2 separate regions of the Homo sapiens genome follow, and region 2 is linked to region 1. Evidence: promoter capture Hi-C in human tissues and cell types (Jung and others, 2019). All regions are on one chromosome and are shown on one strand. The core of a region is centred on a gene start or on the middle of the fragment in contact, and the rest is flanking DNA. Distances in the headings are between cores, read along the strand shown.

What was found. Contacts are between HindIII fragments. The study calls those that stand out against the background at their distance.
Region 2: a contact is called between a fragment that was not itself captured here and the fragment with the promoter of COA4 in region 1, in 7 of the 25 tissues and cell types used here (adrenal gland, bladder, hippocampus and 4 more).

Annotation. Positions count from the first base shown.
Region 1 is chr11:73,873,112-73,878,467 of GRCh38, reverse strand. It overlaps COA4 (cytochrome c oxidase assembly factor 4 homolog), which reads left to right and starts at 1,622. Exons shown (of 2, transcript NM_016565.3): 1 at 1,622-1,711; 2 at 5,074-5,356. The coding sequence starts at 5,090. The coding sequence ends at 5,353. PAAF1 (proteasomal ATPase associated factor 1) reads right to left here and starts at 1,469. Exons shown (of 12, transcript NM_025155.3): 1 at 1,400-1,469. The coding sequence starts at 1,446. RefSeq lists enhancers at 1,232-1,301, 1,322-1,371. The HindIII fragment of the contact is 11,350 bases long and covers 1-5,356 here.
Region 2 is chr11:73,802,798-73,808,153 of GRCh38, reverse strand. It overlaps MRPL48 (mitochondrial ribosomal protein L48), which reads right to left. Exons shown (of 8, transcript NM_016055.6): 2 at 3,075-3,127. Among named protein-coding and RNA genes, the nearest start is that of MRPL48, 18 kb to the right of the region's middle. The HindIII fragment of the contact is 3,695 bases long and covers 1,605-5,299 here.

The sequences.
Region 1 (5,356 bases), core at 373-2,872:
TGTGCTAAGCACTTTCCATACACAATCATTAACCCTCACAATAACCAAACAAGATTCCTTTTATTATTTTAGCACCTGCCCAATCATCCAAATCCTGATCTCTTCACCCTAGCACTTTTAGGGTATAATGGAAAGGGTCTATGCATTTAAGACAGAAAGATCTAGGTTGACAGCAACCCTCTATCATTTGACGAGATGCATGATCTTGGGCAAATTAAGCCTTCTGATTCTGGTGCTGTATTTTCTCATAGGTAGCTAGTGGCACTTCATGTTATTGTTCTTTATTACTTATCACATTCTGTGTACTAGCAACTAGTCTGTATTTTAGCCCACCTAAATTAAGTAAGGTATAAATTTAGTAAGGTGTAAATTTCTTAAATGCAGAAGGCTATGTTTCATTCATCTTCACCATTGTTTCAATTTGAAAAACCCTTATTAGTAGTAGCAGTTGCCAAATATAGCACTGCTATATTCATCCTGAAGCCTAGAGAAATAACTGGAATAGTATAAGATCAATAAATGTTAGATGAATGAATAGTTTGCTGTGTATTCCTAATTAAGACGTCAGCTTTTCTTCTTTTTTGAGATGAGTATCGCTCTGTCACCCAGGCTGGAGTGCAGTGGTGCAATCTCGGCTCACTGCAACCTCCACCTCCTGGGTTCAACCGATTCTCCTGCCTCAGCCTCCCGAGTAGCTGGGATTATAGGCGCCCACCACCAAGCCCGACTAATTTCTGTATTTTTAGTAGAGACGGAGTTTCACCATGTTGGTCAGGCTGGTCTCGAACTTCTGACCTCAACTGATCCACCAATCTCAGTTTTCCAAAGTGCTGGGATTACAGGCATGAGCCACTGCGCCTGGCCTGGATGTCAGCTTCTTGAAGAGCAGGAACCATCACTTATATTTAGAGTATACATCTGAGCTCCACCAAGCATCCAGTATGGGGCCTGGACACAGTATTAGTTTCCTTAATAGTATCGTCCAGTATGCCTAATATAGCATTAGGGGCCTAGGAGAATACAAAGGTTCCATCACATACACAAAGTGGTGGTGAGTACAGAGACTTCTGGAAGTAACTGACGACTAATCAATATTTGCTAAATGACTGCTTGGCCAAAAGCCTTCCTGCCTCCCAGTATCCCTGTCTTTCTCCAACTCACTGATACTAGTTCTGACGCGGGGATCACACAGCTCATGTGCTCCCTTGGCCTAGGGATAGCTTTTCAGAGAATGACCATACGGGTTTGATACTTCTTTTTCCGGACCCTGTTCCCTCCATATCCCTCGACAATTGACGAAGTAACCCCTATTGATATCCTGGACCAGGCATGGCTCTCCTTGACGCAAAGCAACATCCACTACCCGCCTCCTCTGACTCTGTTCTGGGCCTGGATTCACCTGAGGGCTTGCGCCCAGTCGCTCTGAATCCTCAAAGGCGCCGCCATCTCGACCCCGCCTCCACCAGCCCACCTCTTCCGCCCCTTCCCGGAAGTGAGTCCCCGAGAAGCGTGCGGCGAGGACAGAGGTGGGCTCAACACCAAGAGGCCACCAATGAAAACGTGACTTTTTCACATTCCCCGCCCCTTCCGTGTGCACGCTCCCCACGAGGGGCTGGTTCCTGAAAGGATGTACAGAGGATCCCCAACCGCCTGCGAAACCCAAGCCGCCGCGTAGGAGCGTGCGTTCGGGCCCTCTTCTCCCACCTGTTCGGTGAGCATCGCGTACCGCGTTCTTCAGGAGGCGTTGCGGGCACAACGGGGCTGCGATCAGCGGCCGCGCGCGCGCATGCGTCCTCAAAGTTCAAAGTCCTCGATACGCCTGAGGCGCCTCAGGCCTCGTGGCTGCCAGCATTTTTCTGCTTTAAGATCCTTTCCATGACTTCCTTGTTTAGGCCAGCCTCCACGATCCAGCTGCCAACCATCTAGCCTACCCTGATCTCTGAGCAGGGGTCGTCGTCATTTTACTCCAGAGGAGACTGAAGCCAAAAGGTGGTGAGAGGAGAGTACAGCAGCATTTACTGAGTCCTATAGTAGCCCAAGCGCTTTTCATTCGTTATATTAATCTTCATTCTAATTGTGCGAATTAAATATTATTAATGGGAAAACTAAAATGAAAAAGATTACATAGTAAGGCGTAGTGCTGGGATTTGAACACGGATCTCTTGGTTTAGGATCAAGGCACTTTCTATTCCACTGTTCTTTCTCTAAATTATTTGCTCCTGGCCCTATTTAAAGAGTTAACAGTGTATTTAGGAAGAGAAAACTATCATTTATTGAACTCTTTAGACATACCAGCCTCCTTACAAACCTTACCTTTTTTTTTTTCTTTTTTTTTTTTTTTGAGACAGGGTCTCCCGCTGTAACCCAGGCTGGAATGCAGTGGCGTGATCACGGCTCACAGTGTTGCCCAGGCTGGGCGCAAACCATCCTCCCGCCTCAGCCTCCCAGTGTTGGGATTACAGGCGTGAGCCATGGCACCCGGCTTCATCTCTGTGCTTCCAGAGAGGTTATTAAATGATGTGTCCAAGGGCACCAAATGAGGCAGTGACAAAGCTAGGTCCAAGTCTGTTTCAAAGCCCATTTTCTCCCTCTTGCTTAAGTTATACCGCCTCCAAGGCAAATGAGTTGTGTAAAGTGCCTAACTCCCTCTTGTGATTCCCCATTGCCCTCAGAATAAAAAGTCTTAAACTCCCTACTATGTCCTACAAAGCCTTGTGATGATCACTTACTTATATCGCCAGTTTAATATTGTCTTATTCTCACACTGTATTCTCCCATCACTGAACTTTTTTTTTTTTTTGCTCTCATGTGTCAGATTCTATCTCAACCACCTGCTCTTCCATTGACCAAAAATAGTTTTCCCATCTCTGGCTAACTTCTGTTCCATCTGTCAAGTTTCAGCTTGGAAATCACTTCCTCTAGGAAGCCTTCCCTGCCTATTCCTGCCCTTGTCTGGATTAGGCATCCCTCCACTGTGGTCCCAGTCTTTGCTATCTGTACACTGTGTAGTAAACTGCCCTGTTTCCTTGTCTAGGTTGTAAACTCCATGAAGCCAGGAACTTAACTGACTTAGACAGTCTTGAATCCTCAGCACTAGCATAGTGCCTGGTACATGATAGGTACTTAATCATTTGTTGAGTGAATGAGAGACACAGTTAAGGCAATAAGGAGTCCTAGTTGCTTTACAGCCCATCATGGTGAAATTTTTGCAAAGGCTGAAGTCATTTCTCTTCAAACCTTAAGTTCCTTCTGTATGCTGCTTTCTGCTGAGTGTTCTGATGCAGACGGGCAAGACAGTTTGGGCAAATAAATACACCTCACATTTTTGTATAGTTTACAAAGCCATCTCACCTTATAGACCCAGAGGCCAGGTTTCTGCATACTGTATGCTACAGCCACAGTGAACTCTTTCCATCCTTCCCATGTGTCAAAACCTACCCATATTTGGGCACTCTTTCACTTTGTTTGTTTGTTTGTTTTGGAGATGGAGTCTCACTCTGTCACCCAGGCTGGAGTGCAGTGGCACGATCTTTGGCTCACTACAACCTCCGCCCCTTGGGTTAAAGCGATTCTCCTGCCTGAGCCTCCCGAGTAGCTGGGATTACAGGTGCCTGCCATCACGCCCGCCTAATTTTTGTATTTTTAGTAGAGACGGGGTTTCATCATCCCGGCCAGGCTGGTCTTGAACTTCTGACCTTATGATCCATCTGCCTCGGGCTCCCAAATTGCTGGGATTACATGTGTGAGCCACTGCACCCAGCCTCTTTCACTTTTTAAACTTTGTTCTTCAGCATAGAATAAGGCTAGTAGGATAAAAGAAGAAAGGTTATTTATTTGAAACAGGGTCTCACTATGTCACCTAAGCTGGAGTACAGTGGCACCATCATAGCTCACTGCAGCCTTTGAACTCCTGGGCTCAAAGGATTCTCCCTCTTCAGCCTCTTGAGTACCTGGGACTACAAGTGTGTGCCACTATGCCCAGCTAATTTTTACATTTTTTTTCTTTTTTCTTTTTTTTTGAGATGGAGTTTTGCTCTTATTGCCCAGGCTGGAGTGCAATGGTGTGATCTCGGCTCTCCGCAACCTCCGCCTCCCGAGTTCAACCTCGGCTCTCCTGCTTCAGCCTCCTGAGTAGCTGGCATTACAGGCATATGCCACCACACCTTGCTAATTTTGTATTTTTAGTAGAGACGGGTTTCTCCATGTTGGTCAGGCTGATCTTGATCTCCCGACCTCAGGTGATCCGACTGCCTCAGTCTCCCAAAGTGCTGGGATTATAGGCATGAGCCACCGTATCCAGCCATTTTTAAATTTTTTTGTAGAGATGAGGTCTTGCTATTACCCCTGCTGGTCTCAAATTCCTGGGCTCAAGGGATCTTCCTGCCTCAGCCTCCCATAATGCTAGGATTACAGGTGTGAGCCATCGTACCTAGCTGAAAGTTTAGTTCTTTTTAGGTAGATCAGAGATAGCTTATCTAAAAAGATGACATTTCACCTAATTCATATTCCAATAGCAAAATCCACTGAGCTTATTGAATGTTATGTCAAGCATTCTCACAGTTTATCTCATTCAGTTCAAACCACTTTTCAGGCCTGCTCTCAGCCAGGCCTAGTGCTGGGGGCACAAAGGTAAATCAAGACGAACATCAGCCGGGCACAGTTGGCTCACACCTGTAATCCCAGCATTTTGGGTGGCTAAGGCAGGAGGATCACTTGAGCCCAGGAGTTTGAGACCATGCTGAGCAACATGGAAAAACCTTGTCTCTATTAAAGAATCAAAAAAATTAGCTGAGTGGTGATGCACACCTGTAGTCCCAGCTACTCTGGCCAGGGAGGGACTGAGGGGGAAGGATTGCTTGATCCCTAAAGATGGAGGCTACAGTGAGCCTGGGCAACAAAGCAAGACACCCTCAAAAAAAAAAAAAAAAAAACAAGCATCTGTCTTCAAGCTTAGAGTCTCCCACGGGAGACAGACACATTAAACAGGCTAAATGGTGCAGTCTGGTCAGTGCTATTTATAATTTAGGAACCTTACATATTATATCCCTACTCTAACCTGTTAATGTTCTATAGACTCCCCATCCCCAGGATGTCAACCTCAGTCCCTCAAGGCCATACCTGGACCCAACGGGTGAAGAAAGACGATGAGGAGGAGGACCCGCTGGACCAGCTGATCTCCCGCTCTGGCTGTGCTGCCTCCCACTTTGCAGTGCAGGAGTGCATGGCCCAGCACCAGGACTGGCGGCAATGCCAGCCACAGGTGCAGGCGTTCAAGGATTGCATGAGTGAACAGCAGGCGAGGCGGCAAGAGGAGCTGCAGAGGAGGCAAGAACAAGCCGGTGCCCACCACTGAGAC
Region 2 (5,356 bases), core at 2,203-4,702, 72 kb after region 1:
GTGCCAAAGTGCCACATCCTGAGAATGCAAATATAAGTAAGATGTCTCTATCCATGGTCTAGTTGGGAAAGGTGCTGGTAAACGAATGTGAGCCACAATATAGTATTGATCCAGAACAGAAACATACAAAATTAAATAGGACACAAAGGAAAGTATGGTCACTCCTACTAGGGAGGTGAAACTATTTTGAGGTGAGTTTTAAAAAACGAAGAAGTGGCCGGGCGCAGCGGCTCACGCCTGTAATCCCAGCACTTTGGGAGGCCGAGGCAGGCAGATGACCTGAGGTCAAGAGTTCGAGACTAGCCTGCCCAATATGGCGAAACCCCGTCTCTACTAAAAATACAAAAAATTACCCGGGTTTGGTGGTGGGCACCTGTAATCCCAGCTAATCGGGAGGCTGAGGCAGGAGAATCACCTGAACTTGGGAGGCGGAGGTTGCAGTAAGCCAAGATCGTGCCACTGCACTCCAGCCTGGGCAACAAGAGCGAAACTCCATCTCAAAAAAAAAAAAAAAAAAAAAAAGATAATAATACTACAATCTAATGGGACTGAAAATGTATCTTAAACTCTGAGTCAGTTTCCTCTTTTGCAAAATGATATTTATATTTGCCTTGTAGTGTTTTTTGTGAAGATTAGAGATAACGAAAAATAGCTAGTATGGTGCCATAGGAGGTGCTTATCAAATAGTAGTTGACTGATTAAGATGGGATAATAGATTAAGATGGAACGGGATACTATCACATTTGGGATTAAGAAAAAAAAAAAGAAGATGGAAGGGAAATAAAGGGAGAAAGCCCTCAATAAATGTTAAGGACTCAAGAAATCATCCAGGATCATGAGTGCCGAGTAGTTCGGGAAGATGTACAATACATTATTTTATATCCTGTGGCTGTCACACAAAAGACACTTGGTGCATATTTGCTGCTGAACAGAGAAATAAACCACCAAATGTATTTCATCACACTTAGAGAAAAACAATGGGGAGCCTGGGCACGGTGGCTCATGCCTGTAATACCAGCACTTTGGGAGGCTGAGGAGCATGGATCACTTGAGGTCAGGAGTTCGAAACTAGCCAGGTCAACATGGTGAAACCCCATCTCTACTAAAAATAGAAAAATTAGCCAGACATGGTGGTGGGCGCCTGTAACCCCAGCTACTCAGGAGGCTGAGGCAGGAGGATTGCTTGAACCTGGATGGTAGAGGTTGCAGTGAACTGAGATAGTGCCACTGCACTCCAGCCTGGGTGAAAGAGATTCTGTCTCAAAAAAATAAAGAAAAAAGAAAAACAATGGAGAGCAATCTATACACAGAACAGTTTAAAAAAAAAAAGACAACTTGGATTTGAATCCTAATTCCAACCCAAATTAGCTCCATCATATTAAAACAACAGATTAAACTCTCTGGACCCCAGTTATTTATATAAAATTGAGATAATATCATCTGTTTTACCAGGTCACTATGAAGGTCAATTCATTCATTTAACAAATATTTATTAAATGCCTACTATGTGTCAGATACCATCGTAGGCCTAGGAATAGGGCAGTATCCCCATGATGCTTATTTTTAAGGGGCAAGGAAAGACAGTTAAACATTTTTATATATAAAAAATGAGTCAGATGGTGACATCTGCTATAAAGAAAAAGCAAAGTATAAAGGAACAGAGATTGATGGAGGGGTGTATATTTTACATAGAGTAGTCAGGGAAGGCCTCTTGGATGGGATGACATTTGGACAGAAACCTGAAAAAAGTATAGGACAAACCATATGGATATCTGAGGAAAGAATATGCACAGATCCTGGGGTGGGAAGGTGCTTAGATTATCAAGGAATAGCAAACCACAGCACAGCTAATGCTGAGTAAGTAGTATAAAATGAGGATACAGATTATGGAAGGTCCTATAGGCCATGGTAAAGATTGCAGGTTTTAGTTTGAGTAAGATGGGATACCACTGGAGAATTTGGAGCAAAGGAGTGATGTGAGCTAACTTGGCTTTAAAAGAATCATTCTTATGTTCATAATGTTAGGTCTCTTTAAAAAAAAAAATCACTCTGCTTTACTGTGAAGAACAGAAGACAAAGGTAAACTAGGGAGACCAGTTGGGAGGCAAAGTGATGGTAGTAAAGGCAATGAGAAAATAAGGAGCTGGCCCCTAGTGGTTTAGCATAACAGAAAGCATGAGGCAAAAACTGGAGAAAGAAATGGTTCTAGGTCTGGCACAGTGGCTCATGCCTGTAATCCCCTCACTTTGGGCAGATCACTTGAGCCCAGGAGTTCAAGACCAGCCTGGGCAACATGGCAAAACCCTGTCTCCACAAAAAATACAAAAACGAATGGGGCATGCTAGTACATGCCTGTAGTCCCAGCTACTTGGGAGGCTGAGGTAGAAGAACCACTTGAGCATGGGAGGTCAAGGCTACAGTGAGCTGTGATCATGCCACTGCACTCCAGCCTGGGCAACAGAGGTAGACTCTGCCTCAATTAAAAAAAAAAAAAAAAAGGTTCTGTTTATATTTCAAAAGTAAAGCCAACAAGTTTTGTTGAAGAATTAACAGCATCTGGCTGGACGCGGGGGCCCACACCTGTAATTCCAGCAATTTGGGAGGCCGAGGCAGGCAGATCACCTGAGGTCTGGAGTTCAAGACCAGCCTGGCCAACATGGTGAAACCCCATCTCTACAAAAATACAAAAATTAGCTGGGCATGGTGGCAGGTGCATGTAATGCCAGCTACTTGGGAGGCTGAGGTGGGAGAATCATTTGAACCTGGGAGGTAGAGGTTGCAGTGAGCCAAGATCACGCCACTGCACTCCAGCCTGGGTGACAGAGTGAAACTCCATCTCAAAAAGAAAAAAAAAAAAAAAGAACAGCATCAAAGATTAACTGCAAGTATTTTGGCCTCAGCAACTAGATGAATGGAGATGCTATTAACTGAGAATGGGGAAGGAGCAAGGTGGCAGGGGAGATGCATGATGTGCTTATAGACATGCAAGTAAATATGATGAAAAAATGCTGTGTGAACTATGAAGCCAAAGGCAAATGTTACCTATATTTAATTATTGTTTTTAATATTCTTACCTTAAGAGAGAAAAGGCTTGCTTAAAAATGGTATTGTTCCTCAGGCACAGCACCTACAGCAAAACAGCCATGTTAGGACAATCTTAAGCATTTATAGACCTCCAAGTATGTCTTCTCAGAGAGGCAAGAAACCCACAGTACACAAACCAGAAAAGGACAAAAAGGCTCTTATCTAACAAAGAAGCTACCCTACAATTAACACCAAGCATGCAAACAAACCAAGGTCATCATTCTCATTCCACCCACTACAGTAAATGCTCAAAAAACAGAAGTCCCCCTCCCACACTGCTTTTTCACTGTTTACCATTTCCAACTTAATCTATTTTTTTCTAATATCAATCAATAATTAGTATGCATCTGCCATGCACAGCATCATGAGAGGGGCTTTATTAAATCTTCTTTAATTCTGAAAACACTGCAAGACAATTTCGTAAGTAAAGCAACTGAGACCCAGAGAGGTTATATTCCAAAAAATTATACCTAATAAGCTGCTAAGAGGACTGACTTAATGGCCAGGTGCGGTGGCTCATGCCTGTAATCCCAGCACTTTGGGAGGCTGAGGCGGGCAGATCACGAGGTCAGGAGTTCAAGACCAACCTGACCAACATGGTATTGTCTCTACTAAAATTACAAAAATTAGCCGGGCATGGTGGTGCATGCCTGTACTCCCAGCTACTCAGGAGTCTGAGACAGAAGAATCACTTGAACCCAGGAGGCGGAGGTTGCAGTGAGCAGAGATTGCGCCACTGCACTCCAGCCTGGGCCATAAAATGAGATTCCGTCTCAAAAAAAAAAGAGGACTGACTTACTACAAAAGCTATGCCTCTATTATAGTACACTGTCTCTCTCAATAACAGTGATAGGCTGGGCACGGTGGCTCATGCCTATAATCCCAGCACTTTGGGAGGCCAAGGTAGGTGGATCACGAGGTCAGGAGTTCAAGACCAGCCCGGCCAAGATTGTGAAACCACGTCTCTACTAAAAATACAAAAATTAACCAGGCATGGTGGCGGGCATATGTAATCCCAGCTACTCAGGAGGCTGAGGCAGGAGAATCCCTTGAACCCAGGAGGCGGAGGTTGCAGTGAGCCGAGATCTCGCCACTGCAGTCTAGCCTGGGCAACAGAGCAAGACTCTGTCTCAAAAAAAAATTAAAATATAAAAATAAAATTAAAAAATGACAGTGATAATGATACTTCACAATGGAGGTAAGAACAAAAAAACAAATATAATGATAGCAACTGCAGCCTCAATCTCCTGGACTCAAGCAATTCCCTTGCTTCAGTCTTCCAAACAAACGTCTGTTCTTTTGTTTGTTTGTTTGTTTTACGGGAAAGAAACAAAAAAAAAGTCTGTTCTTAAGGTCCCATAACATAAAGAGAAAATCCTGCCCACTATGGATAACAATTTTAATTCTTTCAACATGGATGTATGAAAAGTCTAGTATGCAAAAACAAGGAAAATCTGAGAAACTATCAGTCAAGAGGAGCCTACGGAAAAGACGACGATTAAATAAAATATAATATCCTGAATGGGATCTGCAACAGAAAAAGGACACTAGAGAAAAAGTAAGGAAATCTGAATAAAGTATGGACACTAGCTAATATACCAATATTGGCTCATTAATTATAAAAAAAAAAATCACTCTAGGCCAGGTGTGGGGGCTCACGCCTGTAATCCCAATACTTGAGGAGGCTGAGGCAGGCAGATCACTTGAGGCCAGGAGTTCAAGACCAGCCTGGCCAACATGGTGAAACCCCGTCTCTCCCAAAAATACAAAAATTAGCCAGGGGTGGTGGTGCGTGCCTGTAGTCCCAGCTACTTGGGAGGAGGCTGAGGCAGGAGAATCGCTTGAACCTGGGAGGCAGGGGTTGCAGTGAGCAGAGATCATACCATTGCACTCCAGTCTGGGCAACAGAGCAAGACTCTGTCTCAAAAAATAAATAAATAAATCACACTAATGTAAAGATAATAGTAATAGGGGAACTTGGGATATATGGGAACTCTGTGTACTGTCTTTGCAAGTTTTCTGTAAATCTAAAACTATTCTAAAATAAAGCTTATTTTTAAAAAGTCTATTATAAGCCAGGTGTAGTGGCTAATGCCTACAATCCAAGCATTTTGGGAGGCCAAAGTAGGAAGATCACTTGAGCCTAGGATTTTGAGACCAGCCTGGCCAACATAGGAAGACCCTTTCTCTACAAAACAAAAAATTAGCCAGGCGTGGTGGTGCACACCTGTGATCCCAGCTACTCAGGAGGCTGAGGTAGGAGGATCACTTG